6 separate regions of the Homo sapiens genome follow, and all the other regions are linked to region 1. The links are contacts of gene promoters, found by promoter capture Hi-C in blood cells and fetal thymus (Javierre and others, 2016). All regions are on one chromosome and are shown on one strand. Each heading gives the region's core, a stretch centred on a gene start or on the middle of the fragment in contact. The rest is flanking DNA. Distances are from core to core; before and after follow the strand shown.

Evidence for each region. Contacts are between HindIII fragments. The CHiCAGO score rates a contact against its expected background, and 5 or more counts as called.
Region 2: a fragment that was not itself captured here is called in contact with the fragment with the promoter of GDAP2 in region 1 in 1 of 17 cell types (erythroblasts); the score reaches 5.3 in erythroblasts.
Region 3: a fragment that was not itself captured here is called in contact with the fragment with the promoter of GDAP2 in region 1 in 1 of 17 cell types (total B cells); the score reaches 5.6 in total B cells.
Region 4: a contact is called between a fragment that was not itself captured here and the fragment with the promoter of GDAP2 in region 1, in 1 of 17 cell types (neutrophils). The highest score is 5.4, in neutrophils.
Region 5: a contact is called between a fragment that was not itself captured here and the fragment with the promoter of GDAP2 in region 1, in 5 of 17 cell types (total B cells, neutrophils, naive B cells and 2 more). The highest score is 15.7, in total B cells.
Region 6: a fragment that was not itself captured here is called in contact with the fragment with the promoter of GDAP2 in region 1 in 2 of 17 cell types (naive B cells and fetal thymus); the score reaches 5.5 in naive B cells.

The regions. Positions count from the first base shown.
Region 1 is chr1:117,926,944-117,931,303 of GRCh38, reverse strand. It overlaps GDAP2 (ganglioside induced differentiation associated protein 2), which reads left to right and starts at 1,683. Exons shown (of 14, transcript NM_017686.4): 1 at 1,683-1,856. WDR3 (WD repeat domain 3) reads right to left here and starts at 1,565. Exons shown (of 27, transcript NM_006784.3): 1 at 1,522-1,565. RefSeq lists enhancers at 1,413-1,582, 1,464-1,758. The HindIII fragment of the contact is 4,170 bases long and covers 1-2,810 here.
Region 2 is chr1:117,094,917-117,099,628 of GRCh38, reverse strand. TTF2 (transcription termination factor 2) reads right to left here. Exons shown (of 23, transcript NM_003594.4): 19 at 4,262-4,320; 20 at 3,330-3,480; 21 at 2,196-2,278; 22 at 722-796. Among named protein-coding and RNA genes, the nearest start is that of MIR942, 2.6 kb to the right of the region's middle. The HindIII fragment of the contact is 1,982 bases long and covers 776-2,757 here.
Region 3 is chr1:117,076,061-117,080,427 of GRCh38, reverse strand. It overlaps TTF2 (transcription termination factor 2), which reads right to left. Exons shown (of 23, transcript NM_003594.4): 6 at 4,134-4,248; 7 at 3,605-3,787; 8 at 2,385-2,512; 9 at 779-860. Among named protein-coding and RNA genes, the nearest start is that of MIR942, 16 kb to the left of the region's middle. RefSeq lists an enhancer at 2,350-3,549. The HindIII fragment of the contact is 6,383 bases long and covers 1-4,367 here.
Region 4 is chr1:117,004,048-117,008,845 of GRCh38, reverse strand. The region is part of intron 1 of CD101 (CD101 molecule); the gene reads right to left. Among named protein-coding and RNA genes, the nearest start is that of CD101, 4.7 kb to the right of the region's middle. The HindIII fragment of the contact is 3,226 bases long and covers 916-4,141 here.
Region 5 is chr1:117,052,863-117,057,370 of GRCh38, reverse strand. The region is part of intron 1 of CD101-AS1 (CD101 antisense RNA 1); the gene reads left to right. Among named protein-coding and RNA genes, the nearest start is that of CD101-AS1, 4.4 kb to the left of the region's middle. The HindIII fragment of the contact is 6,290 bases long and covers 1-4,508 here.
Region 6 is chr1:117,358,505-117,362,950 of GRCh38, reverse strand. No RefSeq gene overlaps it. Among named protein-coding and RNA genes, the nearest start is that of MAN1A2, 6.7 kb to the left of the region's middle. The HindIII fragment of the contact is 3,634 bases long and covers 1,083-4,446 here.

The DNA of each region.
Region 1 (4,360 bases), core at 434-2,933:
AACCGAGCTAACATATGCAAAGCACTTAGAAAAGCCTCTAGCACATTGTAAATATGAGCATAAAAAAATTATCCATAAGGACCTGGTATGGTGGCTCATGCCTGTAATGCCAGCACTTTGGGAGGCCAAGGCCTAGGAGTCAAGAGTTTCAGACCAACATAGGCAACACAGCAAGAACCTATCTCTACAAAACATTTTTTAAAAAATTAACCAGGCATGGTGACGCACTCGGGGAGGCTGAGGCAGAAAGATCACTTGAGTCCAGAAGTTCGAGGTTGCAGTGAGCTATGATCACGCCACTGCACTCCAGCCTGGGTGACAGTGAGACTCTGTCTCTAAAAATAAATAAACAAATTCTCCACAATAACACCACAAGGGAAGTCACTCTTCCTATCTCTATTTTACAGACAAGGAACTCAGACCCAGAGATGGCAAATTGCTAACTCAAAGTCATTTAGCAGCTAATTGCCAAAGCCAGATCCCAATCCAGCCAGTCTAACTCCAAAATTTCTGCTTTTAACCACTATGCTAAACTGCTTCTCTTTGCCTCTTTCTCTTTAGTCAATTCCACCTGACTGTTACTCTGAAACAGGATCCCTTTCTCTCCAGCACTTTCAGTTCCAGCTCTTTATCACTGGATTACTGCACTGATTTTCCACCTAGCACCTCCGCCTCCATGTTTTTCACTCTTTTCATTTAAACGTCATAATACTACCGACTAATCTTTTCAAATGAGCTTTCCCTATCCTAAAGCCTTGAAAAGGCTAAATCGTTTGCCAGTTTCCAAAAACTCATCCTATCTAACCCCCGTATTTCTCGAATAAACCTTCCTGTCAGGCTGGCTAGTTTCCTTCCTCGTCCCGCGACCTTGTATTCTTCATATTATTCGTTTTACTTAGAATAACATCCATGTTCTCCTCTACTTCTTTTAACTAATATTATCTTCTGAGGCCCACTTCCTTTCGAGTAAGCCCAATTCTAGCAGCCTTTTTTCATCGCCTCGATATTTAAACTACCTCCCATACAACTTGCACTGTTCACTTTGTTCCACGTGCACAGCTTTCGCCTCCTTTCTGACAGTTCACGACCAAACCTTCTTCCGAGACCCCATGATCTCCGCTTCCTAACCTACAGCCCCCAAAACGATGTTTCCAAGATGCACTGAAGGCCTGGACCGTGGCAACAGACCTGCCACACATTCCTAAACGAGTCTTCGGTCAGGGGAGGGTGACGGAGGGTTCCACACACCGAACACACGGTCATATCATCCTCAGGCCAGCCCGTGCACACGCACGGTCAGGCAGCTCTGCTCAGCACCCGCAACCGCGCCGAGTAGCTGAGGGGCTTCCAAGTACTGCTGTGGGGACGCCCGTAGTTACCTGAGTTCCCCCAGCCCTAGCAACCGGCCTTTAACACGCCCGTCTCGGCTGCTGCTGACATCACGAACGCCTCAGCCAGAATCTGCAAAATCGGAGCCGCAGATAATGCTCTCCGCCCCAACCACGCACCTCCAGGACTCACCTCAGCCTCCACGAGGCTCCCAGCCGATTGGACCCGCCCACAAGACCTGCCCCTTCCGGGTCCGTTCCGGAAGCCTCTTCCGCCAGAGGTTCCCTTTGCCTTCTAGGAGGAAATGACGGAGAAAGCCGGGCGCTGATTGGTGAGCTCTGGCCAGGAGCGGAAGCCGGTGTTTCGCAGCCCAGAGCATTTGCAGCTGGTCACTCCAGTCTCCTGGGACTTTGACTCGCCGTACTCGGCGCGCTCCTGCTGAGGGTCGCCGGAGATGTCGCTCGGCCGCCTTCTACCAGGAGCCTGATCCGTGCCGCCCGCCGCCCGGATGGGACCACCAGAGTGCTGTGAGAGGAGGGACTGAGGCCGGGAGGGAAGGCGGGGCGGAGAGGGCCGGGGGCGCGGTCCGAGGCGCTCGGGACTCGGCCCTGGTCAGGATTGCAGGCTGAGGGTTAGTTCTGTCACTTCTCTTGAAGAACGAGCCTGGCGCCACTTCCTCGCATGTTGGTTAGGTTCTTTCCCGAGGCGTTGTCGGGGACGCCGTCTCTACGAGAAGTGAAAGGGTGGGCAGTCGGCGGGCACTAGGAACAGTGGTGCTGTAGCCAAGGAGGCGGGCGCCCTAGGGTGCAGGTGAAATGGGGCAGGCGGGAGCTCTTGCTGGTTGTAGTCCCAAAGACAAGTCCGTGTTGCCGTTCCTGTGGACTGGACATTCTACGGAACCGAGAGCACCTCGGGTGAGGGGTGGGTAGACGCTGAGCCCAGGATGGTGCGTTGTCTAGGTTCCCGCAATCCCTGGAGTGACACTGGCCTGGCTTTGTGTTTCCGCTCTCTGGCCGCTTGAGGGGGAAGTGACCAAGGCTGACTCCTCCTTGTTTGCTCACTGAGACTTAAGTGCTCTTTCACCAAGTGGGAATTAGCTTTTCTCTCTTGCATTTCTGCTACTTTTATTCTTGAGCTGCATAGAAGTGTTTAGAAATGAGTTCTGATGTCTAGAGCTGTGCAAAATTAAAGCTAACATAGCTGTACAAAAGAAGATCCTGCCGGCGCTTCTTGAACAAGGTATCTGCAGCCAGCCTAGAAATTAGACTTTTGTCTACATTATCTGATTTTCTTTAGAGTTTCCTGAGCTTAATGCATGTTCAGCTAATCTTCCATATTCAAGAAAATTGCAATAGCAAAGAATGCGTATGATGAGACTGTGGACAGCTGTAGCAGCATAGGAGTTTTGAAACAAGATTGCTGTGTATTGGATAAATGAGAAGGGAAGAAATTGTGGCCACAAACTATTATTTTAATAAGCTTGGTGGGAAAGGGAGCATTTGAGTGGGTATGTATGGTTAATATCCCTGACAGGTGCTGTGCATTATATTATTATGGGGAGAAGTGTGTGCTTCAATGGAAAACTACATAGTTTAGATTCTATCTTAACACCCCTTGGAATAACTAATTCTAAAAAAGCTATTTTTCAGTTACGTAAACTAGGTAAGTGACATCAATGCTAAATAATTATTGTCAAGACATGCGAATTCTCTCAGAGATTCAGTGGAAGTTTTGCCTCCTTTTGCACATTTATTTCAATATTCCTGCTCTAAGGTGTCTAATTCTGGGATTTTCTTTATCTTCTCTGCCTGGTTCCATTTTGAGTTAAATAAAATCTTGAACACGGGTTTGGTTTTATATTTGAATGAGTCATGATTTTACCTTTTCTTAAAAAACTATCTTAATATTATTAAATATTATGGGATGGGACAACCACAGATGGAAAAAAATGATTTTAATAAGAGTTGGTATCAGAGCAACTGTGAGTGGTAAGGTAATGCATCTTACAAAATTCCTTATACAATGTTTCAAGGATGTAACTCTACTTCCTTATTTAAGTTTCAAAATGCCTAATATATCAATATTTACAATTAAAACATAGTGCAGTTCATTTAATATGAAGGGGTACTACTAATTTACTGTTAGGATATGTTCTTTGGGTGCTTTTGAATTATGATGTTAAATTTGACCCAAGCCATTGACAAGCTTAGGAATGTTCTTGTTATACTGTATTTATTGTTGACATATTTGACTACTTCAGTTAGTCTTCCAATCTGAAAATCTTTTTTAAAAAATGTCTTTCTGATGGCATAAAATGATTCTTAAGTATGGTGTTGGATGGTGGCATAAAATGATTCTTAAGTATGGTATGCACACATATCCTCATGTACTCTGAACTGTTAAATATTGAAATACAAAGTCATAAAGAATGGTAAACCCGGTAATTAATGGCGGTCAAGTGCATGCACCAGCTCTCTTTGTACTGTTGTTATCCAGGCTGGTCTGATCAATGTAAGCATTTTGAAAGACAGGTAAACAGGTTAAAAGTTACCATTTTTCTCTCTTAAATGATATCATTTTCTTTCTATCCAGAAAAAAAGTTTTTTTTGAGATGGTGATCCAAGGTATTATGCCCAATTTTGCCCAGTTTTGAACAATAAAATCTGATCTCTCTAGCCAATCCAATTATTCATATTAAGCAGTATTTAAAGGACTTCTTAAACTAAAAGATGACAGGATTTGAGGAAAAAAAAAACAAGTTACAGTGTAATGAGAGCTGTTTACACTGCACCATTTGAATTATAAAAGATACATAGTGGGTTATCTTTGTCTTTAGGTCCTCTTCACTAAAGTACTGAAGATCATATGGATATGGAAATAGATTTGATTCATTATGGAATCTTCTGTTTGTCCCATGTAGACTTTTTGATCCTTGGAAATTAATGTCTTGCTTCAAGAGCCTTTTTTTTTTTAACTAGGGCTTAGTGTTTGTTTATGAACTTATTAAAAGTACAGAGCTGATCAACTGATT
Region 2 (4,712 bases), core at 517-3,016, 830 kb after region 1:
GGTCCAAAACAGAGGACATTTTGCAAAATAACTGGCTCATGCTCATCAAAATGTCAATGTCATAAAACACAAAGACTGGGTACTGTTCCAGATCAAAGGAGACAAACTTATGAAAACTGCGTGCTACCAGGATCTGGGATTCTTTTTTGCTGTGAAGGACATCACTGAGACAAGTGAGATTGAAAAGATCTGTAGATCAGATAATAGTGTTTTATTAATTTTAATAACCTGATTTTGATGATTTTATTGGGGTTACGTAAGAGAATTCCCTTAATTTTAAGAAATGTACACTTAAGTACTTAGGGACAAAGGAGCATCAGGTCTACAACTTGTTCTCAAGTGGTCCAGAAAAATGTTTCTACCCACATGCACACCATAATATATGGGAACTTTTTGGTACTATTCTTGTACGTTTTCTGTATGTCTGAAATTATGTCAAAATAAAAGTTAAAAAGAAAAATAAAAGATAGGAGCATCCTTTCATGGACTGCCCTCACCATATACACAAATTTGCTCTTCTTTTGCAGTGACCAACTTCAAGCTTACCCCAAATTGCTCGTTTTTCTCCTGACTGTGGTTTGCCTGAAGGTATGCCTCAGGGGCATCATCAGTAAAGTCATCACCAAATACTTTAAATTCTATGAAAACACTACCTAAGAAAGAAAGACTTTCACAAAGTACAAGTTGAGAAGGGTCCTGGGTCCTGGGGACCATTACTTACCTGTGTATGACAACATCTTTCTGCTGCCCTACTCGGTAAATTCGGTCACAAGCTTGATCTTCAAGTGATGGATTCCTGTTAGAAGACAGCTAAAGCTCAAAGGAACTGACATACTAGATCAGAAATGGCAAACTATGGGCCATGGGCCAAATCCAGCCCACAGCTTGTTTTTGTAGCTAAAAATTATTGTTACAGTTTTAAAGGGATTTAAGAAAAGAAAGCAAAGCAAAACAAAACACACACATCATGTGACAGAGAACTATGTGGCCTGAAAAGCCTCAAAGAAAAAAAATCTGTCGATCCCTGTCCTAAGCTATACTGGCCTAAGACAAGCTGGTGCCAGATACCTTCTTGCCTAGTTTCTAGTGAGAAACTAGGGTCAGACTGTTAATAATAGCTCTTAGCACTATCATCAGTTGACAACTCTTAAGTAACAGAGGTGAAACCAAAACTCAGGTCTGGTCTCTAGGTAGCTAGATGTCCTTGGGCAAGTTATTTAACCTCAGTCCTCTAGGCTTCAGATTGCTACTTGGAAATTGAAGGGCCAGCTAATGATCTTGACTAGCTGCCTTTTTCAACTTGAATATTCTGTGATTCGATTAAGGAGACTTAATTTGTTTCCTTCTTTATTGATTCCCATTGTAACTCCAAATTAGTTTCTCATCTTACCTCTTTAAAATCTTGGATAACATTTCTCTATCTCTGAAAAAAAAAAAAAAGCATGATTCCTAGTATGCTTTCCTCACTCACGTGTACAGAGGAGTCCCAAGTAAGAACTAAACCCGTTCTCCTGGAAGATGATAACAGGTTGACCTATTTGTACCCATCTGGGCTGTCTGGAGAATTGGACCAATGACAATCCCCAGCAGCAATCCTTGATTGGCATAACTGGAAAACCAGAAACTGGTACTCATTATGAGATTTTCTGTTAGCAACACACTAACTCATTCATTCTGTAGCCACGAAAGATGTGGTTGTACTCCTGGTATTAACACTACATACAATGAATCCAAGGGTGAGGTATTAAGTGTATTTCTAACATAATTAGAAAATCCCTATTCCTTTTCTTTTTGGAGTAATGCTTCTCCCTCTTTTCAAAGGTTGAAATTTCCTTGGACCCCAACAAGTGTGTCTGGAATACAGTATTCTGGAGAAGAGGTAAAACTGAGCAAGGTTAACTCTTAGCCATGAGGAAAAGCTATGCTCCCCGTTTCCATGGAAACAGATGTTAGACTAACAATAACGTGAATGAACTATTTTGAGTAGTCATTTGAAGGCTTGCTAGCTCAGGAATTCAGGGGAGTCAGCTAGCCCTATACCCTGCTTAGATCTGTATCTATAGACACATACAAAGCAAGGCATCTCTGCAATACGAACACAGCAATCAACATAAGAAGTCAGTTCTTGCTGCCCCTGTAGCCCACTGGCCTCCTTGATGTGCTGTGACAACCCAGGACAAATCCGGAATCATTACCAGTGCATGTCCAAAAGAAAGAGGTGATTTCCTCCAGTCAGGTTTAGACCAACACCTCCGGCCAAGAGAGAGATTAGCATTACCTTCAAAAGGAAACACAACATTAACTTTAAACAGACTTGGTCTCGTAACACATCTCGGTCTCAGGTTTAAGTCCACAATCAATACAGATAAGCACTGTGTTCCTATCAAATTTCCTTCTGCTGTTATAAATTGTTTTTTTTTTTAACATTATAATGCTATCTCCCATGTCTCACTTTTGAGAAAATTCTCACATCACATTTTGTGTGTGTGTGAGTCAACCTCAAAAAATTAACTGAGTGCTTGCCAAAATATATAAATACTGTAATTTAGAACCCTGGGGATGGTCAGCTCAATAAACTTTCAATTAACCAGATTATGTTTATTTCATCAGTCCCTACCCCTCCATTGCTACAATAATTCTCCTGCCTATCATTCTACTAATGCTTTCCAAATCTTTATTATCTATAATTAGATGCCTGTGTTCTTTCATTTCCTTCCATATTTCCTCATACCAAAACCCCACCTATCCTTCAAAGCTTGCCTCCTCTGCAAAGATTCCCCTCAACCTAACCAGCTCTGCTGTTAATCTCCTTTTAGTCCTCATATTTGATTCTTTTTAGAATATTTGTGCTCTTTAAAAGTATCCCAATACATGTCTAATAAATTCTAAACACTCGGAGGAATCAAGGCTGTAAATATTTTTAAGTTGCCATATCAGAATTCTCTTTATATGGCTGGGCACGGTGGCTTACGCCTGTAACCCCAGCACTTTGGGAGGCCAAGGCAGGTGGATCACCTGAGGTCAGGAGTTCAAGACCAGCCTGGCCAACATGGTGAAACCTCATCTCTACTGAAAATACAAAAATTAGCCAAGCTTGGTGGCAGGAGCCTGTAATCCCAGCTACTTGAAAGGCTGAGGCAGGAGAATCGCTTGAACCCGGGAGGCGGAGGTTGCGGTGAGCCAAGATAGCACTATTGCAGTCCAGCCTGGGCAACAAGAGCAAAACTCCGTCTCAAAAAGACAAAAACAAAAACCAACCAAACAAAAAGAATTCTCTTTGTATAACTCAGAACAGTTAATTATGCGGCTCTGATGTGACCAGCTTGTACCTGAGGGCCTCTGGAGTGGTTAAATGCCTCTACCAAGTCCATTCTCTGCTTGGGATTGACAGAGCCATCGATGGTGGCATAAGTCAGTCCATGCTTCTTCAGGTGCAATGCTACAACTTTCAGCATGTTGGTCCACTGAGAGACAATGACACTGGAAAGAAGAATAAAATAAAAAAATACCCTAACATAGATTAAACAGACTCATCTGCAGGGCTTTAATGCCCTCATCATTCTTAAGGTTAGCTATCAAATGTTGACAAGGAAAGGCCTTCTGCTACCTAAGGGAGAAGGCACACATTTAGGTCATATCTGAAGATTATAATGCTTCCAGTTATTTCTAGGTCCTTTCTACAATTTATTTAGTGCTAAATGAAGTCAGAAAAAAATGGTAGCTAGAGTAAAGTGATGACTCCAGCCTTCTTTCATTTGGGGTCCTAGTGCTCATCCAGAAATCTGTGGTCCTGCACAAAAGGGACACACTGACCACCCTTCTTGTGCCAGCCAGAACAACAGGCTCCTCCCTGCCCCCACGCTGTCTTAATTCGAGTTCTAAATTTTTATATTGAATTATTTTATAAATAATGCAGGTGTATAGCACATATGTCAGGTATAACAAATGAGTCCTTGTATCCAAGTACTCAGCTTAAGAACGTTATCAGCACTGCTGGAGCCTCCTCACTCGCTTGCTTTTCTTTATATGCTTCTCTACTTTTAAACACTTTTTCAGATGCTTCGCTTACCCTGATCCTCTAGGGATCTCCTTTTCAATTTGTACCACAAATATTTTAATTAGAAATCACAGGGAATGTGTGCTATAACCTCAGTGCTTTCTGCTGAGCATGACTCACAGTCCTTGATTTATAACTCTTGGCAATATCAAATTTTCTCACATAATTATGACCAATACTTGGATAATGAGAAAACGCAGTTACCTCTTTTGGGATGCTGAATTTCTTTGAATTGCCTCCAATTCTGCCAACAGAGATGAAATCTGGGAAAAGGTTACATCAACATTGTATGTTTAAGCAATTCACTTTTCTCCATCTCCCCTCACCTGCCATGCGAAGCAGCCTCCTACATGGCGTCTGTGCTCTGGCCTCACCTGTCTTTATTCCACCCTCCTCTCTGCAGCCAGAAAGCTCTTTCTAAAATGTGAGTTTGTCACTTCACCCCTCTGGCTAAAGCCCTTCCATAGCTTCCCACTGAGGATAAAGGCCAAGCTCCTCAAGGCAGCTTGCCGGATTCTTGCTGCTCCAGCCTCTGCTTCTCTGGGTTCGTTTCTCACCATGCCCTCCTCAAACGACACAGCAAGCACACCAAAATTCTTCCCATAAATCACACACTGGCCATCTTGTCCATTCTGCTCCCTCTGCCTAGAACACC
Region 3 (4,367 bases), core at 1,563-4,062, 850 kb after region 1:
AAATCCTTTCTGCAGGAAACAGTGGCTATAGAAACAACTGACTTTGGGGTGGCACTGGTTGCCTCTAGCACTTGGTGAAGCAAAGTAGCTGTGATGCTTTTTATAGACTACTTTTAGGCCAGGTGTAGTGGCTCATGCCTGTAATCCCAGCACTTTGGGAAGGCCAAGGCAGGTGGAGCACCTGAGGTCAGGAGTTAGAGACCAGCCTGTCCAACATGGCGAAACCCCATCTCTACTAAAAATACAAAAAATTAGCCAGGCGTGGTGGCATCTGCCTGTAATCCCAGCTACTGGGGAGGGTGAGGCAGGAGAATCACTTGAACTTGGGAAGCGGAGGTTGCAGTGAGCCGAGATCGCACCACAGCACTCCAGCCTGGGTGACAAGAGCGAAACTCCATCTCAAAAAAAAAAAAAAAAAAGAGGGAGGCAATAGACTGCTGTTTGTGTGTTGGCTCTAGCCATGGCTCCTGAAATTGGCCTCGAGCCTGGCACTCCGTATCTCCTAGAGATTGTGGGAGCCACCAAAAAATAAACTCCTCCTCTCTTTAATCAGCCAGAGTCAGCTTCTACTGCTGGCAACCAACATCTTTGATCCTAAACTGTGTATTCTTGAGCAAGTTGCTTAACACTTCCATGCTTCACTTTCATCATCTGTAAAATGAGGAATAATAGTACCTGCCTCATAGAGTTCTTGAGAGGAATAAATGAAACAACACTACGTGTTTAGCACAATGCCTAAGCATTCAATAAAGGCTGACTCTTATAATACCACACTTACCCAGAATTCCTCCTTGTGGCTTCTGACTTTCTCGCCATAGTAACCAAGCCAATGCCTGCTTCTGGTGTAGTAGCAAAGGGACCTGACAAAGGTAATAACCAAATGCTAAGCATAAATTCCTAATGAGAGGCTATGCCGAGCCTGGCTACACGAACTCTACACTCTCCTATTTTCTACAAATGATTCCCTCAGTATTCTGTAGACAGTTCATTTCACCTTGAAGTCCTTAACAGCACCCTCTCTCAAGGGTAACCATACTGTCCTGGTCTGCCCCTGTTTGTTTTGGGTTGCATCTAATGTTCAGCATTTCTATTAAGAGTCCCCCCTACACCCCAAGTGAGAGTCCTGATTTGTCTGCTTAATCAGTCAAAATCAGTCTCTACAGCTTTTATTTTTTTATTTTTATTTTTTTGAGACAGCCTCGCTCTGTTGCCCAGGCTAGAGTGCAGTGGCGTGATCTCAGCCCACTGCAGCCTCCGCCTCCCAGGTTCAAGCAATTCTCCTGCCTTAGCCTCCCGACTAGCTGGAATTACATGCGTATGCCACCATGCCCAGCTAATTTTCTTATTTTTAGTAGAGATGGGGTTTCACCATGTTGGCCAGGCTAGTCTTGAGCTCCTGGCCTCAAGTGATCTGCCTGCCTCGGCCTCCGAAAGTGCTGGGATTATAGGTGTGAGCCACTATGCCCAGCTCTCTGCTTTTAACCAAGACCTCTGACCCTATTTTCAGCAGCCATTACATTGGCTTTTCATTATTTCCTCATTATCTCTTAAATTTGCCTCTCCTTTCTGCAGCCAATGTCCCAGTCTGCACTACTGGTCATAAATTTCAATAGCCCTTTGACCAGAGTCCCCCTTCTAGTCTTCTGTACTCCAGTTTATCTTGTACTCTGTTAAGAAAAACTAATCTTCATCAGTCATCCCTGCTTAAATGCTACAGCGATTCCATACTATCTCTTGAGTTATTCAGATCTAATCCTTCATCAATGCCAGGCTCCTACTCAGTAACATCACCTGCTACTGCTGGCTCAGGTACTGATGACAGCTGATCACCACTTCTGAATACCAATCTCTTTATCTTCCCACTAGTCACCACTCCCTCTAATTGCAGCGTTTTATTCCTTTCCTCTCTGCTATCTAAAGGCTTTCAACCTTTAAGGCACAAAGTAGGCAGACAACAAATAATCACTGACCTAGAGTGATGTTTCCTTTATTCTGAATCCCTTTTGTACTTTATAGTATATTACAAGGCACCCCTTATTTCTGCCTTAAAGCCTTTGCTAATTGTTTTATTTACATTGTATATGTATTTTCACCCCAACTAGTTCATTACAAGCAACAATTCCTTCACATTCTTGTGGCACCTACCAACTCAACAAATGGATCCTTTACTGCTACAGAAATAAGTAACTTTATGACTTTTTAAAAAAGGGGTTTTGTTGTTATTGTTTGCACTGTTAAGCATAAAAGGAGAGGATGCTGCAAGGGAAGCCATTTAAGCATCTGTCTGTAGGAAAGGTATCTCAGAAAGTCTCTCTGCCAGCAGTTTCATGGGGCTGCTGGAGCACTGTCATAGAGGACTACACCAGGAGTCTTCCCTGGCTCACCTTCAGCCCGGCGGGATCTTCTGCCACAACCGTCTCACCAGGACATGACTCAAGTGAGCGATGCAGTTGACCGATGGCTTCACTTGTGATTTTCCACACTGCATGAACGTGATCTTGGTTTGTATGGCCTGCATACAAATAGGTGTTACCTAAAAGATGTCACAAGTATGTTTTCTTTATCCCTTTAGAGTGAACTTAGCTACAAATGGCCCTGTATCTGTTTCTTACCCTCCTTGTTAACTACTCTCCTCAACTTTCCATGTCTCTAGCAGTTCTCAGTTGGGAAACAAGTGGCTTTTGCTTTTCTGGTCACTGCCAGCCAACCCAATCTCCAAGCTCCTATCTCCTGATCAGTCTCCTGTCAACTGATCCTATTACACATTTCAGGCTCCACTTGGAATCTTCATTCTGCAGTTACCTCTGAATTCAAAGTTGCCTAGAAAGTTCAGGAAGGAAACACTTAGCTAATAGGGTGTTATTGCTCTCTGTGGATCTATTAGTCATCAGTCTTGACTCATGTCTCTCCTCAGTCTTACACACACTTACACACACACGAAAGAATAAGAGCATATCTGCAGGTCTGCCTACCTCATAATGATGCGAGCTAGAGTTTTCATCCACAAATGCTGACTGGATGACTCCTATGTGCCAGCCACTGAGCTGACTAATCAGCATACAGTGGTGAACAAGGTAGACACAGTCTGTGCCCTCACAGAAAGCTAAGTAACACGATGCAAAGCTCTACTGAGCTGCACAATCTTTATTATATGGGCAACTTCTGACTTAAGAATGGCTTCTCCCCTCATGTGGGCACAAAGACATCTACGGTAGTCCCTCCTTATCCACAGGGCGTATGTTGCAAGACCCCCAGTGGATGCTTGAAACTGGATGGTACTGAACCCTACACATACTATGTTTTGGCTTTTTTTTTTCCCCATACGTACATACCTATTTTAAACTTTAATACATTAGGGACAGAAAGCATTTAACAATAATAATAAAATAGAAGAATTATAAGAATATACTGTAATAAAAGTTATGTGAATGTGGTTTCTGTCTCTTTCTCTCTCAAAATATCTTACTGTACTGTACTCACCTTTTTTTGAACCACAGGTGACTAAGGTTAACTGAAAGTGTGGATAAGAGGTGACTACTGTACCGGGTGGCACGTAACTCACAGGGGTGGCTATTCACAGCAGGGTCAGGCCCTTGGGTCTTACCTCGATAGCACTGACTGGATCCTCCAGCAGTCACCTGGCAGGCAGACTTTAGTTCTAGAGAACCCACAGGTTGGGTACCACGACGAGGAAGGGGTTGGGGAGGCACCAGGTGGGGAGGGCCAGTGGTAGTTTTGGTGAAGTGACTCTGCTGTGGTACTTGACTGTTACTCTTCTCATTAGTTCCTGCTCAGAAAACAAGGGAAGAGCAGATTAAAGTTCAGCAAACTAAGTGAAGGGACCATATGTGTGGAGGTGAGGTCAAGAGAGAGGGATCATCACCATTCCGATGAAGGATTCCTAGAGAAGGTAGCATTTTAACAGTTGCTTAAACAATGGGGAAGAAAGTAGAGTCCACAGGAAACAGGAGAAAGTTTTTTATGAACCATAGGTGTAATGTGAAAGAAGTCTCAGAAGCAGATAATAAAATGGAAAAGTGAATGAATCAACACATTCTTTATTAAAAGGGCTTCCCGAATGTCTCTTGTAAAGTCGATGCAAACCCGGAGTTCTGAGGCATAAGCCACTTTACCTTGCTCTGGGGAAAGGGTAAGACCACTGAGTACTTCCTCCAGCTCCTGGATTTGTTTGATCAACTTCTGACCCTTGTCTGGAAGAGCCTGGATGTTCACTGATGCCAGTGTGCTCTGAAAAACAGATTCCATCAAATGGATCTCTCCTCTCACACTGTTAGATGAATAGTTTCAGATTAAAATAGCCTGAAACACCCAAACTCTGAAATTATGGTCTTTTAAATATGTGTGCA
Region 4 (4,798 bases), core at 1,279-3,778, 920 kb after region 1:
ATTGCTGGCCTTATGGAGTTAACCGAACAGAGTTCATACGAAGATGAGTAAGAAGCAGAGCCTCTGCTGCATTTTGTGACTCCACAGGGACAAAGAGTAAGGAGACCAGAGTGGAAAAAAAAAGTGAGGGAAAGGAAAAAGGACATTACAGAGAACATGATAAGGCTGAGTATAGGAATCTGGGATGAAATGAAAATAATTCTAAGGGATAGGAGGGAACTACAAAAAAGGGCAAAAGCACAGAAAAGGTAAGTGGTCACCTGATGCAGTCAAGTGCATATATTTCATATATGTATGTTCAGTCTAAAACTGGGAAACCAACCAATGCCCAACCAACTAGTCAGCCAACCACACACATTTCTAGTAATAATTTTTTTTTTTTTGACACGGTCTTGCTCTGTCACCCAGGCTGGAGTGTTGTGGTGCAATCTTGGCTCACTGCAACCTCTGCCTCCCAGGTTCAAGTGATTCTCTTGCCTCAGCCTCCTGAGTAGCTAGGATTACAGGCATGGGCCACCACGCCTGGATAAGTTTTATATTTTTAGTAGAGACGGGGTTTCACCATGTTGGCCAGGCTGGTCTCGAACTCCTGACCTCAAGTGATCTGCTTGCCTCAGCCTCCCAAAGTGCTGGAATTACAGGTGTGAGCCACTGCGCTCAGCCTCTATAATAATTTAGAATACACTAATTTATTCATAAGTCCAAATTAATGTGACATATTTATATCATGCTTTTTTTGTAATAAGAATCTAGGAATACAAGTTAGACCACCTTAGAAAAATGTAAATTATTACTTACCAACAAGTTATACTACAGTGGCAGTTTAAGACACTTTTCAGTAATGTCGTCTTAGAGAAATGTGTGCACCAAGCTATGTGTGAAAGAATATGCACAGCTACACTGCTCATTAAAGCTTCAAACAAGAGACAACCCATATGTCCATCAACAGTAGGCTGGATAAACTGTGGTACAGTCATAAAGTGGAATGTTATATAGAAACAAAAATCAACAATTACAACTATTTGCAATAACATGAATGACTATGTTCAAAGCAAGATACAAAAACACTTCTGAATCCTTGTGACTATATACAGAATGATCGTACTGTTTATAAAGTTTAAAAACAGGTGAAACCACACTGTATTATTTAGTGATGCACACATAAAGGGCTGAAATCATTAGCAAAAAGGCAGGAAATGACCAGGCGAGGTGGCTCATGCCTGTAATCCTAGCTCTTTGGGAGGCCAAGGTGGGCAGATCACTTGAGGGCAGGAGTTTAAGACCAGCCTGGCCAACATGGTGAAACCCTGTCTCTACTAAAAATACAAAATTAGCCAGGCATGGTGGCAAGGTGCCTGTAATCCTAGCTATTCCAGAGGCTGAGGCAAGAAAATCGCTTGAACTCAGGAGGCAGAGGTTGCAGTGAGCCGAGATTGCGTCACTGTACTCCAGCCCGGGCAACTCCATCTCAAAAAGAAAAAAAAAAAAGCAAACTAGGAAGTGGTTATCATGAAAGTCAGGAAAGTGATTGCATGGTGTTTGTGATCTGATGGGGCACACTGCGGGCTGGGTGGGTGCTTCTAGGGTCTTGGCGATATTCTATTTCTTGACCTGGGTAGACATTATACAGATTTTACTTTGTGCTTATTTGTTAAACTGAAAATTTGTTTAACAAATTTTAAATTTATTTTAAAATTATTTTAAACAAATAATAAAAATTTTCTTATGTTGTATTTCACAATAAAAATATTTTCTTAATGTGGCTTTTGAGGTACCACTAACCCACATATATCAAGGCATGTTTCTACAAACAATGTTATTTTTGGTGGCTAGGCAACACTTCTCGAACGTTTCCCATCACTTTTCAGCAAGATGGGTACCACGTTTGAAAATTTTTATTGTGAAAACACGCACTTCTTTTTCTACTGCTTTATTTGCCAATTCAATAAATATTTATTCAACCACTTATAGTATTTCTCATGCTTGAGGGACTAAGATATGAAGATGAATTTAGGCTAGATTCTGACTTCTGGATTTCATAATCCAATCAAGTGGATAGTAGTCACCTCTCTATGGAAAACATATAATAAAAGTGCTTCAAAAATTTTGAAGAGGGACTACATTTTGAGGGGAGGGAAATAGGTTTATGGAGATGGCATAAGAGATGGCATTAGAAATGGATTTTGGAGAATTGGGAAGATTATGACAAGGTAAGTGGGGAGACAGAGCATTTTAGGTGAAGGAGATTTCATGGCAAGACTCTGAGTAGGAATCAAAAGACTTACTCAAAATTAAAGAGTAATCAACTGGATGGGGGAGGGCTGCATAAAGATTAATAGAAAGAGGTAAAACTGGACAGCAATTTTTGGGTCCAGAGCAGAAAGGACTTGACTATCACATTTAAAAGTTTGGACTTGATTCATTGGCAATGGGGAATCCACTGAAAGTGTTTAGGAGGTTTTAGGAAAATGAACCTCACAGTTTGTGTGCAGAATGATGGAAGTTAGAAATAGACAATCAGGTAATTGTAGGAGCTCAGGACAGAGGTGACAAAAGCAATAGGGATAAAAGTAAAGGTACTATAACTGAGCTACTGTGGAGACAAAATCTGTAGTTTTCAGTGCGTTGGATGCTTGGGAGTAGCAGGGTTAAATGGCGAGATGAGAGGTAGGAAGAAATCAAAGATCATAGGTTTGATAAGGCTGCCTGGGAGAATATTGATACTCTGACTAGAAATACAGATATTAGGAAGAGTTACTGTTGTGTGTATAAGGGTGAGTGAAAATATAATGCATTTAATTTTAGAAATACTAAATTTGAAGACCATGGAATAGACAGGAAGGATATCCAGCAAACATTTTGAAATATTTAAATATAGATATTTATATTTACATATAAATTATACATATTTTCAAAGGGTTAAATAGACTTTAACCCTTTGAAAATATTTGTAATCGAATCCTTTCAAAAACCCTGTGATATTCCCATATTTAGTTATGTAAAAACTCCTAGGATTTGAGCCAGACTTGAACATATTAATAGATCTGCAAATGCCAAATCCATGGCTGTCCCCATTGTTTCTTGTTGGCTCCTGTAAATGTCTGTTTGTAACTAGGGAGAGTTCTGAACTGTTAGATGTAGATTAGGTCAGTTACATACAAGTGTTGGGAAGTATTGGGGAACAGAAGGAAGAGGACTAAGGAGAGATTACTAGGGAATTTCTCTCTTTAGGGGATGGGATAAGGAACAAAACTTACAGAGGGAAGAGTTAGATGGAGGGCAACTAGGACACAGCGGCTGGAAATCAAGGGAAGAACATTCTAAGAGGAAAGGGCTTGTCAGCACTGCCAAAGGCTGCCAAGAGGTTGGGGACTCTGAAGGCAGAGGAGACTCCTGTTAGCTCGATGAGGAGGATGTCCATGAAGATCTTTGTAAAAGGGATTTCAATAGAGTGGAAGCAGCAGTTTTCAGGGTAAGAAGTGACTGCAGGAAGTGGAACCTACTTCCAGGAGTTTCATGGAGAAGGAAAAATGAAGATTAGGATGGCAGCTAGAAAGAGTAGCTAGGTGAGGAGCGGTAGGAAGGGGTGGGATGGAGAATGGGTGAAGCCAGCAAGGAGGATGAATGAAGTAATGTCCTAGTAGAGGGATGACAGGGAGGGTGCTGTGTTATAGTCTCAACGTCTGTGTCTTCCTAAAACTCACACGCAGAAACCTAATTTCCAAGGTGATGGTATTAGGAGATGGGGCATTTAGGAAGCAATTAGGTCATGAGGGCTGTGCTCTCATGAATGGGATTAATGCCCTTGTAAAAGAGTCCAGGAAGCTCGCTAGCCCCTTCTGCCACGTGAGGACACAGTTAGAAGGTGCTATGAGGAACAGGCCCTCACTGACACCAAACTGCCAGTGCCTTGATCTTAGACTTCCCAGCCTCCAAAACTAAATTTCTGTTGTTTATAAGCCCCCCTCCCCCACCCGCCCCAGTTTATGGTACTTTTGCTACAACACGCCAAACAGTCTAAGACATACTACTTTCTGAGAAAAGTGAAAGAAATAGTGTGGAGATTTCAAAGGTATTTTTCAGGTAGAAGGCATGACTGGCAGAGATCAACTCAAATGGCTATGCACTGGGGCCATAAGCTTAAGCATCTTACTATAAATATATTCTCTCTGGGTTTTTTCAAGTACATATCATCCACCCTCCGAAAAACACCTGTGAGGACTGCCCTCTTGCTCTCTCTTTTAATGGGTAGAGGGTTAGCTACTTTTGAATAGTAGCTCATATTCTTGTTGGCTGATGAGTACAAAGCTTGGCACTGACATACTAACATTAGAATCATGCTTTCAAAACACCAAAAATTCCTCGATGGTATTGACTTTCTTTAAAAATATCACTGGAATTGTCAAATTTACCACTGCAGTATTATTTGAATGAAAACGATTAGGTTGAACTGTATAAAATGGTCCATACTTGAGCACTTTTTATACCAAAAAAACAGCAGTTTCAAATAATGCTACCTTATACAAAACCTACCTCAGGAATAGCCAACATAACAAGCAGCTTCTTTCTCTTTTCACATTCAAAAACCCTATATGCTTGGAGGCTGAGATAGCTTCCATCCATACTAAGTGGAATCTTTTTTATTTTTCATGAATGCAAACTCAGTAAGACAGACAATAGCCCTTCCCCCAAACCCTGCCATATTAATGGCCATTATTTGTAGGGCAGCTAGTTTGGGTGGGGGAAATAGATCAAGCAGACAAAGCTAACTGCTAAATCCGAGAACTCATTTACCCAT
Region 5 (4,508 bases), core at 1,427-3,926, 870 kb after region 1:
CAGTTTGGGAGGCTGAGGTGGGTGGATCACTTGAATCCAGGAGTTTGGGACCAGCCTGGGCAACATGGTGAAACTCCATCTATACAAAAAATAAAAAAATTATCCAGGCTTGGTGGAGCATGCCTGTGGTCCCAGCTACTTGGGAGGCTGAGTTGGGAGGATCACCTGAGCCCAAGGAGGTCGAGGCTTCTGTGAGCCATGATTGAACCACTGTGCTTCTGCCTGGATGACAGAGTGAGCCCCTGTCTCAAAAATAAAATATAATTCTGGGGTAGCACAGACACTCATTTTATTTTTATTTATTTTTCTTTTCTTTTTTGAGATAGTGTCGTGCTTTGTCACCCAGACTGGAGTACGGTGGTGTAATCATAGCTCACTCTAGCCTCAACCTTTCAAGCTCAAGCAATCCTCCCACCTCAGCCTCTGGAGTAGCTGGGACCACAGGTTTGTGCCACCACACCTAACTAATTTTTTGATTTTTTTTTTTTTTTTTTTTTTTTTTGTAGAGAGGAGGTCTTGCTGTGTTTCCCAGGCTGGTCTCAAACTACTAGGCCCAAGCAGTCTTCCTGCCTCAGCCTCCCAAAGTGCTGAAATTACAGGTGTGAGCCAACACACCCAGGAACAAGTCCAACCCCACAAAAGTGGAGCTTAATTCCTAGGAAAATGAAAGAATTATACTTTCTGTGGTCAGCATTGTGCTGGCTGGCATACATTAAACATGTCAGACCTCCATAAGATACCAGTGGTGAGAGGATGAGCTAGAACATTCACCTTTTGACATCTCGGTCACTACCTTATTGTTTTAAAATAATCAGCAATTCCAAGTTTCAAGTGATTTGTAAAATTCTAGCGGCTATGCTTTATTGATTATTTTTTAAATTAAATTGTTCAAATTTATGTTTCAAATGAGCAGATCATTCTAAGAATCATATTTACTTTTCTGAACTTCTGGTGTTTTTGCTTGTTGCTTTGGGATAGGATGGGAAGGAGTAATTTTAATTGGCAGATAAAAGATTGTTCCCTATTAGGCACATTCTGAGAGGGAAAGTCATATTCTAACTTTTCCTGAGGTGTGTTCTGAGATAGTACTTTTATATGCATTGTCACATTTAATTGTCACAACTAGCCTAGGGATGGGATTTTTTATCCCCATTTTTAAGATGAAGATACTAAAGTTTAGAGCAGTTAAGGAGGTGGCCCCAAGGCCAACTTACCTTACAGAGCTGCTCCTAAAACTTTGGAACCGGATAGTCCCCATGGATTAATTTTGACCTGGCTCAAAGTCACAAAGCTGACAGCAGCCAATCAGGGACTAAAGGCCATTTTTCAGAACTTTCAATCCAGTTCTTGCCACTATAGTATTTTTTCTTCTTCTTCTTCTTCTTTTTTTTTTTGAGACGGAGTCTCGCTCTGTCGCCCAGGCTGGAGTGCAGTGGCGTGATCTCGGCTCACTGCAACCTCCACTTCCCAGGTTTAAGCAATTCTCCTGCCTCAGCCTCCCAAGTAGCTGGGATTACAGGCACCCACCACCACGCCCAGCAATTTTGTGTATTTTTAGTAGAGATGGGGTTTCGCCATGTTGGCCAGGCTGGTCTCGAACTCCTGAGACCTCAGGTGATCCACCTGCCTCGGCCTCCCAAAGTGCTGGGATTACAGGCCTGAGCCACTGCGCCCAGCCTATAGTATTTTTATAAAGCATAAATTATTCAGCAATGCATTCAGATATTTAACCCACACATCGGTAAGTGTTTAGGTATTTGCTGTGGTGTAGAGACATGGCTCAACAAATCCAAGACAAAAACCAAAAACCCAAGTCCTGCCATTTTATAAATGACCACTAGGTAGCAGCCTAGTAACATAAAAACCAAACTGAGGCCCACCCTCCTCTGTTTCATTCTTTTTGTTTGAAGATATATAATGGTAATTCAATTTCATTTCATTTCATTTTGTGCCTTTCAAACATATGACTGTTTTCAACTTGTCCTTTGACATAGGCTCGATCAGGATGATACTATAGTGAGAACAAATGTGGTTATAATTTGTAAAGCCAAGAGACTTTACAAATTATTTTGTTATACCAATATTTTTTCAGTACTAGATTCCAAATTTCACTGTTCTTAAAATATTATTCCAAAAGTGGTTCAATGCAGGCTCTTTATCTTCTTCTTTTTTTTTTTTTTTTTTTTTGGTAAATGTACAGGTATTTTTTTCAGTTGGAGTCTTGTCTGTTACCCAGGCTGGAGTGGAGTGCAATGGTAGGATCTTGGCTCACTGCAACCTCCGCCTCCTGGGTTCAAGTGATTCTCCTGCCTCAGCCTCCTGAGTAGCTGGGATTATAGGCTTGTGCCACCACGCTCAGCTAATTTTTGTATTTTTAGTAGAGATGGGGTTTCACCATGTTGTCCAGGCTGGTCTTGAACTCCTGAACTCAGGTGATCCACTCGCCTCGACCCCCCAAAGTGCTGGGATTACAGGCTTGAGCCATCGCGCCCGGCCACAATTCTTTTTTTTTTTTTTTTGAGACAGAGTCTCACTCTGTTGCCAGGCTGGAGTACAGTGGCATGATCTTGGCTCACTGTAACCTCTGCCTCCTGGGTTCAAGTGACTCTCCTGCCTCAGCCTCCCGAGTAGCTGGGATTACAGGTGCCCGCCACCACGCCTGGCCAATTTTTGTATTTTTAGTAGAGATGGGGTTTCACCCTGTTGGCCAGGCTGGTCTCGAACTCCTGAACTCAGGTGATCCACCCGCCTCGGCCTCCCAAAGTGCTGGGATTACAGGCATGAGCCATCACACCTGGCCCACAATTCATTGTTTAAGTAAATTTATAAAGTTGTGCCATCACCACCAGAATCCAGTTTTAAAACATTTCTATCACTCAAAAACTTTCCTCAAAGCTGTGTGCAGTCAATCCCAACTGCCACCCCCAGCTAGTCCCAAGGCAACCTCTGATATGCTTTCTGTCTTTATAAGTTTGCCTTTTCTGGACATTTCATATAATGGAGTCATGTAATATGTAGTCTCTTGCCTCTGTCTTCTTTCACTTACATAATGCTTGTGAGGTTTACCCATGTTGCACATGTATCAGTATTTCACTCCTTTTTATTGCTGAGTAATATTCCATTGTGTTCATTCACCAGTTGGTGGACATTTGGATCATTTTCCCTTTGGAATTATTAGGAATAATATTGCTATGAACATTAATGTTAAAGTCTGTTTTATTGTTTTTGTTTTTGTTTTTTTGTTTTTTGTTGTTGTTGTTTTTGAGATGGAGTCTTGCTCTGTCACCCAAGCTGGAGTGCAGTGGCATGATCTTGGCTCACTGCAACCTCCAGCTCCCAGGTTCAAGCAATTCTCCTGCCTCAGCCTCCCGAGTAGCTGGGATTATAGGCTCGAGCCACCACGTAAGCTAATTTTTATATTTTTAGTAGGGACAGGGTTTCACCATGTTGGCCAAGCTGGTCTCAAACTCCTGACCTCAGGTAATCTATCTGCCTCAGCCTCCCTAAGTACTGGGATTACAGGCATGAGCCACCGCACCCGGCCTAACGTTAAAGTCTTTATATGAACATTTGTTCTCATTTCTCTTGGGCAGATAAACCTGTGAGTGGAATTGCTAGTTCATATGGTTAGTTTGTTTAACTTTTTAAGAAATTGCCAAACCACTTTCCAAAGTGGCTATACCATTTTATATTTCCACCAGCAACGTATGAGGGTTCCCAGTTCTTCATGTCCTCAACAATGCTTGTTATTGCGTGCCTTTTTTAGTAGGTATGAAGTGGTATCTGACTTTTGTTTGAATTTTGATTTTTCTATTGATGTGGCACTCTTTTTCGTGTGCTTTTTAGCCATCATCTTCCTCTTTTTAAATGGTCTTGAAAGTCTTTTTCCTTTAACGTTTGTATGGAACTTAAACCTAAGTTAAAATGACATTAATTGTTATTAATACAAAGACATAAAAAGACATAGTAATCATTTGTATAATGTTAAGTAACAAACATTATACAATGTACTATGTACTATGAGTATAGTCATGTCAATTTGTTTTTTTTTTTTTTTTTGGAGACAGGGTCTCACTCAGCCCCTCAGGCTGGAAGTGGTGCAGTCTCAGCTCACTGCAGCCTTGTTCTCCCAGGCTCCAGTGATCTTCCCATTCCAGCCTCCCGAGTAACTGGGACTACCAGAGCACACCACCACAGCTGGCTAATTTTTGTATTTTTTGTAGAGACAGGGTTTCACCATGTTGCCCAGGCTGGTCTCAAACTCCTGAGCTCAAGCAGTCTGCCGCGTTGGCCTCCCAAAGGGCTGGGATCATGTGTACACCATCACACCTGGCATCAAAACTATTAACTTTCAAGACTATATGCTGTATGATTCCATTTATATACCTCTGGGAGGTTGGGTTGGGAGATTGGTGCAGTTTTTATTTTCTACAACTAGCATGTATTGCTCTGTTACGATTTTTAAAATCCAATAAAGATATTGAAAGCAGTCACATAGAAAACAATAA
Region 6 (4,446 bases), core at 1,650-4,149, 570 kb after region 1:
AATTCCCAGCCCTGAGCGTGCTATAACCTTAGAGCTGCCAGTGGCCTTCTTGCCACCATGTGAGGAAGTTTGCTACTAATGAAGCAAACAGAGAAGAAAAGAGCTGAAACAGTGAGAGAGAAAGTATCTACATGGTATCACTTGAGCCCTTGGTAAGGGTGGATCTGGGTCTTGTGGGGCTGGAAGCATACCTAATTTGAGGAGTCCTCTTTAAGAAAAATAATACAAAATGAATTATTAAAGTGGATTTTAGGGCGGGTGTGGTGGCTCACACCTGTAATCCCAACACTTTGGGAGGCCGAGGCAGGTGGATCATGAGGTCAGGAGATTAAGACCATCATGGCCAGCCTGGTGAAAACCCGTCTCTACTAAAAATACAAAAATTAGCTGGGTGTGGTGGCGAGCGCCTGTAATCCCAGCTACTCAGGAGGCTGAGGCAGAAGAATCGCTTGAACCCGGGAGGCAAAGATTGCAGTGAGCCAAGATCGCGCCACTGCACTCCAGCCTGGTGACACAGTGAGACTCCATTTCAGGAAAAAAAAAAAAGGATTTTGCTAAACTGAATTCCATTACAAGTGAGTATGTCTTAGTAATGCTGAGACCACACCACCACCACCCGACCCACGCGACCAATGGAGCAGTGTGACGGATAGGAAATCAGAGTAGAAAAGAAACCACAATCTTAACCAATCGTGATTGAAATATTTTATTTTTACAAGATTTAGAAAAACATGATTATGTATACATGTTGCTAGGACCTCTCCCAGAGCCTAAGACAGGACCGAGCAATTAGTAACCCAGAAATTTAAACTTCATTGGGCTCATTGTAAATCTACTTCTCTGAATCCAGGTATATCTAAGGCTATTTCATCTTTTGAATTTCTCGGTTGTATAAGTCTATAAATTTCTTTTTCAGTCAGAATTAGTTTCTGTGGCTTACATTCAAGAGTCTTGACTAATACACAGTGTGTCTTTACATGGAGGTATTGTGGCTGGTAGTAGTATGTGAAGCTTCAGTAGTTTTACAAGTATAAGTGATCAGGGACTAGAAGGAACCTACTCTTTCAGGTAGGCAACAAGCTTGGGCAGGGACAAAAGCAGAATGAAACCAGCAGAGATGTCTCTGTGGTCGGCCAGGGAAAGAAAACCTAAAACTGGGAGGGCTGGACAGATGTGACTGCAGAGGTATATCAAAGCTAGCAACCCCTACAGAAACCTTCCAAGTTGGATCCTCATATCCACCTTTATGAAAAGGAATTTGACTCCAAAAGAGGTTAGGAATTCTTTATAAATCCTTATATTAAAATTGTTTTAAATCCATTCTAGGCAGCTAATTTGAGAATATGTTTCATTGATTTATATATTCATTCATTCATTATTATTGAGCACTCACTCTCTGTTGGTGTTATGCAGTGTTCTAGGCATCCAGAGATGAATAAAACATGAGAAGCAGCTGTATATGATGAAAAGAACATGGGCTCTGGAGCTGGAGAAACCTGGGCCTAATCTTGCCTCTGACATTTACTTGCATAATATTGGAAACAAAGGAAATCTTACTTGTTCTTAATTTATTCATCCATAAAATCAGGATAAAAATACACACCTCATAGGGTTGTTATGAGGATTAAACTCAATAATGTATGTGATAGTGCTTCCCCCCATAGTTGGGATTCAATAAGTATTAACTATTGTTTTTATTATAGGCATTAGAAAAAGTAAGAGTTGGTAGATAAAGAGAGGAAGGAAGAGCCTTTGAAAATACTTACAGGGACCAGGTGTGGTGGCTCACACCCGTAATCCCAGCTTTGGAAGCCTGGGAAATGTGGTGAGACCGTGTCTCTACAAAAAAATTTAAAAATTAGCTGGGCACGGTGGTGTGCGCCTGTAGTCCTAGCTGCTTAGGAAGCTGAGGTGGAGGATAGCTTGAGCCCAGGAGTTCAAGGTGTAATAGAGCAAGTCCTTGTCTCAAAAGATAAAAGAGAGGGAAGAGAAAGGAAGGGTAGGGGAGGAGGGAAGGGAAGGAAAGGAGGGAAAGGAAGAGAAGGAGGGAAGGGAAGGGAAGAAGGGAGGGGGGACAAGGAATAGAGGAAGGAGAAAGGGCATGGCATGTGTTAAGGGAAACTCGTCTCCCATAGCTTGAGCCCAGGAGTTCAAGGCTGCCATGAGCTATGATGGTACCACTGGACTCCAAACTGGCAAGAGCTTGTCTCCAAAGAAAGAGACAAAAGGGCCAGGTGCGGTGGCTCACACCTGTAATTCCGGCACTTTGAGAGGCCAAGGTGGGCAGATCACCTGAGGTCGGGAGTTCGAGACCAGCCTGACCAACATGGAGAAAACTCGTCTCTACTAAAAATACAAAATTAGCCGGGCGTGGTGGCACACGTCTGTAATCCCAGCTACTCAGGAGGCTGAGGCAGTAGAATCTCTTGAACCCGGGAGGCGGAGATTACAGTGAGCCAAGATTGCACCATTGCACTCCAGCCTGGGCAACAAGAGCAAAACTCTGTCTCAAAAAATAAAAATAAAAGAGACAGAGAGGGAAGGAAGAAAGGAGGGAGGGAGGAAGGAAGGAAGGAAAGAAAAAGACAAGACTTAGAGGAATGAGAAGGAGCATGTCCTGTGTGTTAAGGTGTTAAGGGAACCTCCTCTCCCTTGGCACCATGTTTCCATGGGAGGAGAGGGGAATTTCTACTGGAGTGCTAGTTCTGCTTTCTTATACCACTATTCTTCACACTCAGGAGTGCGTTACTTGATTGGTGAGTACTGTTACATTCATTAGCTCATAGTTCTTGACTGGATGGAACTAATCTAATAAATTCATTCTTTTTTTTCCCTTTCTGCCCTAGATCAGTGCAGACAATGATCTTAGATAAACATGTTTGGCAGCAGACCTAAACTTCCCCTTTAGTGGGCTGTTCCAAGGCTAGATTCTGTGGGGGTCGAGAGTCAGCAGAGAATGTTGGCAAGCCCTTTTGGGTTACAGATCTATAACCTAGTTTTATTAGCTTATCTGTAATGAAGCATAAGGGTAGATAGATATAATATAGATATCAATTTTTTTAAGTCTCTATATGACTTTCGTCTGTTGTCTTATTTCATCCAAAGTTGGGGGTTGGGAGACAGGCATGCAATTTATTGACCCTCTGGAAACTGAAAGTAGTTCATTATGGCTAGAACATAAATTGTAAGGTAGCGATGGTGAGAGGTGAAAATGGAGAAGTACACACAGAAATATGTCTACTCAACTTGGTGCAGTAACACCATGCTTTCATCTACTCCTTTTCCTCCACACACAGAGAAATGATGGCTAAAAAATAGAGAAAACCAAAAAGACATAACCAGGCTCAAGAACAAAATGATCATTTTCATGGATCTAAAGTGGAACCAAACAGAAAGCATTCAGCAAGCCTGGAGCTACAAGCTCACTGTGGTCTCAGGCTCAAAAGCCAAGATTATTGTCTCCTGCAAGGTGAAAGGAATTACAGATGGTTCAGTTGAGGGCAGGAGCCAGACTTAGTGCTTGAAGCCAGGAACTCCTGAAAGGAGGCTGCATATAAACCGCTGCCAACCCACTACCTGGTAAAGTAGAAGAACAAAGGCACAGCCTTGGAGTCAGGAACCAAGCCAAGCAGCTGGCCATGTGATTTGGCCTGTGGCATCACTAGGAATAGGAGCATCAAGATGCCAGCTTTAGATCTAATTCTAGAATAGAGGTCTGGGGAGACACATGGAGGCAAAATCACTAAGCATGGAGGTAAAATCACTAAGCATGGAGGTGAGCCCAGAAGGAGTGAGAAAAAGAAAATAAACTAAAACAAAACAGGAAAAAGCAAATAAAAACGTTCCCTCAAAATGAGCCTGACCACCAAGTTTCAATCACATAAAAATATCTAATACTATGAAAGCTAGCCAACAAAACGGACACTCAGAGCATGTATTTACTCCAGATAAAAATAATTCTATGGAACTATCTGGCAAATATTTTTAAATTAAATATTTTTGAATTTGATATGCAATAAATGGATGCATAGCACCCATTTTGAAAGGACAAGAAATTAAGGAACAGATACAGGCTGAATTAAAAAACAGGTAAATATGAGAAAGAACTAACAAAAATTTGAAAAATAAAAATATGGTCATTGAAATCAAAAGATATATGGAGCTAATCAAAGTCAAAGAGAAAAAGTAGTGAATTAAAGGGATGTACTAAAGAATTCAGCCAGAGCGGGAGGAGCCAAGATGGCCGAATAGGAACAGCTCCGGTCTACAGCTCCCAGCGTGAGTGACGCAGAAGACGGGTGATTTCTGCATTTCCATGTGACGTACCGGGTTCATCTCACTAGGGAGTGCCAGACAGTGGGTGCAGGACAGTGGGTGCCGCACACCGTGCGCCAGCCGAAGCAGGAGAGGCATTGCCTCACTCGGGAAGCTCAAGGGATCAGGGAG